2 separate regions of the Homo sapiens genome follow, and region 2 is linked to region 1. Evidence: promoter capture Hi-C in human tissues and cell types (Jung and others, 2019). All regions are on one chromosome and are shown on one strand. The core of a region is centred on a gene start or on the middle of the fragment in contact, and the rest is flanking DNA. Distances in the headings are between cores, read along the strand shown. Region 1 holds the start of APOBEC3H (apolipoprotein B mRNA editing enzyme catalytic subunit 3H). Region 2 overlaps CBX7 (chromobox 7).

Region 1 (2,657 bases), core at 102-2,601:
ACAGGCGTGAGCCACAGCACCTGGCCTGGCTCTTTGGTGTTTATGATCTGAAGGGTGTTGGTTGATATGCATGAAGACGAGGACATGGGTTCCAGAATGCAAATGTGAAGTCCAGGTCCTTCATCTCTGACCTGGGAGGCCCTTTAGGAGCAGTAAGTCCCCTCCCTCGTGTCTCCTCTCCTGCTCCTTTCCATGGAGCAATGAAGAACCTCAAAGTAGCTAGCTGTGGGGGAGAAGGGACACAGGAAGTCCTGGCCAGCACTCCAGCTCTGCTGTTGATTTGCTGTGTGACGTGGGGACAGTATCTTAGCCTCTCTGTGCTTGGGACCTCCTCTGACTGTCAGGATCACTGCCCTCCCCTCCCAGTGCTATCTGGGGACTGGGCTAGATAATGGGCACTGGATCCGCTGGAGATGCAGTCCTGAGCCTGACCCCAGTGCTCATTTCACATCAGGCTCAGGGTCCTGCCAGGAGGCTGAATGCCAAAGGTCAGTGGGGTGGTGGGGAGGGGGCTGCAGCCTGCCCTGTCCACCAGGGGAGTGGCATCTGGTCTATGGTGTCAGCCCTGGTCTGGATCCCTGCTCCTTTCTGTGGCTTCTATTCCTTTCATTTATTTTAGTTTAGTTTAGTTTTTGAGACGGAGTTTTGTTCTTATTGCCCAGGCTGGAGTGCGGTTGGCCAGGTTGATTTTGAACTCCTGACTTCAGGCAATCCACCTGCCTCAGCCTCCCAAAGTGCTGGGATAACAGGCACCGTGACCAGCCATCAATTCCTTTCTTTTTTCTTTCTTTTTTATTTTTATTTATTTATTTATTTTTTGAGACAGGGTCTCGTTCTGTTGCCAGGGTGGAGTGCAGTGGTGCGACGTCGGCTCACTGCAACCTCTGCCTCCAAGGTTCAAGCAATTTCCCTGCCTCAGCCTCCCAAGCAGCTGGAACTACAGGCGCAGGCCACCAAACCTGGCTAATTTTTTGTATTTTAGCAGAGACGGGGTTTCACCATGTTGGCCAGGATGGTCTTCATCTCCTTACCTTGTAATTTGCCCACCTCAGCCTCCCAAAGTGTTCGGATTACAGGTGTGAGCCACCGCATCTGGCCTTTGTTCTTTTGTAAACTATACCTGGGGAGGGAGTTGAGTCTGGCTGTACCTGGAGAGGGAATTGGGGGTGGGAGGATGGGAGGTGAGCCACCTCCATCAGACTTCCCCTGCCAAGCCCGAGGAAATAGAGAAAGAAAGGAGCCTGAGGGATCTGAAGCACCCCAGGGCCCTCCCACTCCAGTCCCACAAAAGGAAGAGGGTGGAGCCACCCTCATCAAGCAGTGACTTTTTGTGACTTTTGGGAGAGCTGACCTTTTGTGACTTTTGGGAGAGCTGCCAAAAGTGAAACTTAGTGCCTCAGACAAGCAGGGGCAAGTCTGCTAAGGAAGCTGTGGCCAGAAGCACAGATCAGGTACTGCCGCCCACTCTGTCCACTGGGCCCTCTGCTGCCACTTCCTGCCTGGCAGCCCTTCTGTGCCTCAGCCCTGGCCTCCCGCTGCCCCAGCCCCAGCCCTGGGCTCCTTCTCCTCTGGCTCCCCTGCCATCCCCACTCCCACCCAGGCTCTTTGCCCTGCTGTGTGGTCACCCCACTGCTGCTTCTGAACGGGCCGCCTCCCCGGCCTGCACCAGCCCAAGACCCCTGCTGAGACTCTCCCCTAAGAGTCATGGCTGGGCTAGTGCTCCCCACCTTGGGAGGGTGCTCTCTCTGTGTGCTTCCTGCCATTCCTGGGCTCTGGAACTGGGAGAACTGAACTAAAGGATGATGGGAGCAATCTGGAATTTTGTTCACAGTGCTTTGATGAACTTTGTGTAAGATTACTTTGTTTCAATACAAAGTCTTAGGAGAGGGTGTGGGGAGGCAATGATCTCTGAAGCACAAGGCAAATCATCTCTTCCAAGGATGTCTCCACTGTGGGCAGAGGAGGATGCAGATGACCCTGAACACACACTCCTCCTCCATGATCAGTATTCACATTCACCGTTTATAATGACACCAGTAACACGGAATATACGGAAAAACTCAATGATCAGGAGAAATGCTTTTATTTTAAAATTTAGGAAGAAGAGAGCCTGGTTCCCAAAGGCTCCCTCCTGCAGGGCCCGTGATGCAGAGGCTGGCAGGGCTGGCCAGGAAAGTGGCCCAGCTCCATGGCCTGGGCAGGTTACCCCACCTCTCTGCACCTCTGGCCCCTCCTCTGTAAGATGAGAATGGCCCCTGCAGGCCTAGGGCAGCCTCACGTGAGCTCAGATCCTCTCAGCACTTAGAAGAGTGGCCTGGGCCTGGGGATGGAAGTGCTACCCTGATTTTTTGTTTCGTTTTGTTTTTTTGAGAAGGGGTGTCTCAGTCTGTTGCCCAGGCTGGAGCGCAATCTCGGCTCACTACAAGCTCCACCTCCTGGGTTCACGCCATTTTCCTGCCTGGCCAGGCAAAATGGCTCATGCCTGTAATCCCAACACTTTGGGAAGCTGAGAGGGGAGGATCATCACTAAAGGCCAGGAGTTCCAAACCAGCCTGGGCAACACAGGGAGACCCCCTTATCTACTAAAACTAAAAAAATAAAATAAAATAACATGAATAGGTAAAATGCCAGGAATTAATTGAACTGAAATATTAAGA
Region 2 (2,657 bases), core at 55-2,554, 36 kb after region 1:
TTTGAAAGTGACCAGGAAGCAGGAAAAAGGTCCTATGTCCCCTGGGGGATGGGGAGCGTGACTTCTGCTGGAAGCTGCCAGCCATGTTCCAAAGTCATGGGCCAAAACATTCAACTAGAGACCCCCCACAACCCTCTATCATCTTTACCTCCGCTGGGCACCCCTCTCCTGGAAGAGTCCCCTCTGAACCCCAAGCTTCCCCTTCCCCTCCACAGGGCTCCACAGCTGGAGATGGGTGGTGATTCCTGCCGCTCCTTGTCCAGACCCACCCCACGTATTCCTCTAGATTCCATTCCCTGGGCTGGAGGTGAATCAGGTCATCCCGGAGGGGACTGTCCCCCAATGGAAGCACTGAATTGACCGTGGACAACTAAAGATCGAGGAGGAAGGAAAGAGAGACTCAGGGATCTGGGAAGCCTGTCAACAGAGCACCCCATGCAGAAAGGGCTGCAGGCTGTCTTTGGTTTGGGAACCAGGGAAGAAGGGATTTGGGGAAAGAATCACCCTCTCCTTGCCTCAGTAGACTCTGTGACTTCCTGAGGACACAGAGCAGAGCTGCGAGGAGGGCGGGCAGGTCTCAAACTTGCTGGCCGCACTCCACTCTTGGTGTGTGTTACCCTGACTCTGACAGCCAAGGAAAGACAGGGGAGCCGGCCTTTTCCATGCTCCCCTTGGGCCCCCCAATCTGGTTTTGTCTCCCCTACAGGACTGGAAGAGAGGGAGAAGTCACTCCTCACTGGCAGGGAAGCCACGGGCCCCCAGGACACCTTGTACAAACCAGAAAACAAGTGCACCTTGCCAGGGGTGGGCTGGGGCAAAGCCTGCCCATCACACAGCACAGCCTGACCTCAGAGAGGCACGGCAGAGGTCCCTCCACAGGAATACAGCTCAGCCCCAGCTGTGGCATTTAGGTTGGATGGGGAGGGGATGCAGAATGGAAGGAGGAAGGGGCTTAGGAGTCAAGGGCTGCCCTGAGAACGTGGTGGGACACTCCCTCCCTCCCTGACTGCCCACACCTGGGTTGGCTGAGTTGGAGGGGAGGGCAGAAAAAGAGGGGAATTGGAAGGGCTGAAAAGTCACCTGAGTCAGAAAGAACAAGAACCCCTCACGGGAGGAAGGACAGGGTCCAGACGTCTCAAAGCCTGTGCTGATACATCACACAACTTAGCAGACGCCTGCACACCCGCAGCCTGGCCCGGTGCAGCCGAGAAACCACATCTGTATGCCTGGAGCATGGGGTGCCATCGCACCTGTGCCAGACCCCTGCCCTCCACTGAAAGCCGCAAGCAGGTAGCAAGGTGCATGCAAGGTGGGGTGAGTGCAGGTGTGGTGGTGAGGTCTTTTGTGCTGTGAATCACCCCACGTTCGCCTGGCCAGGGTTTCTAACCCAGGTTCGCAAGGCCCATGTGGACACGTCTGCAGCCACACATGCTTTCACGGGGCACATGGGAACGTACACGCGAAGGGTAATGCGTGCACACCTGTGCAGCCAGGTGTGCATGAGCGTTTCTGCACAGGCCAGGTGATGAGGGGAGGGCAGAGCTCTCAGCAGAAGGGTCTCAGCGGCGCCTCCTCCCTGGGAAGGATAGAAGCCTCTCTGAAGGGGAAGGGACTCGCCCCAAGTAACCTCAACCCTTCCTCCTGCCCCTTCCTCCCGCCCCACTCACTTTTGGTCAAAACCAGCCTCCACAGCCCACCGCAAAGCCAGAGAGGAGAGTTCAAGGTAAAGACCCAATTGAAACAAGAGAAAAGGGGAAAACCAGCCAACCAGGCTGGGGTGGCCACTCAAGGGAGAGGGTTTGGGCCTTCCAATGCTCCTTTAACTCCCAGAACCAGCTGCTGCGTCACTAGAGGAGAATGATAATGGTGGTGTCCCGGGCAGGTGATCCTGTCCCCATCCTGCCCTGGGGGTGGTACCCCAACTCCCAGAGCAACTCTCTCCATCCCCAGCCTGAGGCCTCGTGGTAAACGTCCCTCAGAGAAAGGGCAGGTGGTGGGAGAGTAGTGGGATCTTCTCCCCTTTTGCTGCTCGGTATTTTTTTAAATAAAATAATTACCCCGCCCCCAACCCATCCCTATCTCTGGAAGTCCCACCCCAAGCCCAAAAGAAAACAGTTTAAGAAGAGTAAAAACGGTGATTCAGAACTTCCCACTGCGGTCTCGGAAGAAGCCCTCAGCTGCCTGGGCCTCGCGGAAGGTGACGGTGATGGAGTTGGCGGTGATGTCGGTCACGGTCACCTCACTTGAGGGGAGCGCAGGTGTCCAGGGAGGGGGCCCCTCGGCCAGGTCGGCATCTGCTGCAGCGTCAGACACACAGATGGGGGCAGCGTTGACAAGGTGGGAAGCCATGCAGACCACCCAACCCGACCCCAACTCCAGCTCCTCCTCTCTGTGTCTTCAGTCAGCTCAGGGCCTCACACAGGGCTGGACACTTGGGAGGAGGGCACTGGGTGCATCCTCCCCACCTAGACAAGAGCTCAGCCAGAGCGGGACGACAGGAGGAGCCCTGGGCTAGTGTTGGGCCCTGAGCCCAGACCCGACTGGCCCCACAAAGCACTACAGGCCCTCTTTGGACATTGAACCAGCTGGACCTTATGACCCATAGGGCCCTTTCCAGCTCTGAGGGTCTCTGGGCTGGGGCCGCCTTACCCTCCTCT

Evidence for each region. Contacts are between HindIII fragments. The study calls those that stand out against the background at their distance.
Region 2: a contact is called between a fragment that was not itself captured here and the fragment with the promoter of APOBEC3H in region 1, in 3 of the 25 tissues and cell types used here (aorta, mesenchymal stem cells and spleen).

Annotation. Positions count from the first base shown.
Region 1 is chr22:39,095,893-39,098,549 of GRCh38, forward strand. It overlaps APOBEC3H (apolipoprotein B mRNA editing enzyme catalytic subunit 3H), which reads left to right and starts at 1,352. Exons shown (of 5, transcript NM_181773.5): 1 at 1,352-1,451. RefSeq lists enhancers at 474-1,673, 996-1,883, 1,214-1,553, 1,884-2,657. The HindIII fragment of the contact is 18,686 bases long and covers 1-2,657 here.
Region 2 is chr22:39,131,752-39,134,408 of GRCh38, forward strand. CBX7 (chromobox 7) reads right to left here. Exons shown (of 6, transcript NM_175709.5): 5 at 2,650-2,657; 6 at 1-2,297. The coding sequence ends at 2,140. Among named protein-coding and RNA genes, the nearest start is that of CBX7, 20 kb to the right of the region's middle. RefSeq lists enhancers at 1-236, 1,876-2,560, 2,561-2,657. The HindIII fragment of the contact is 4,160 bases long and covers 1-2,657 here.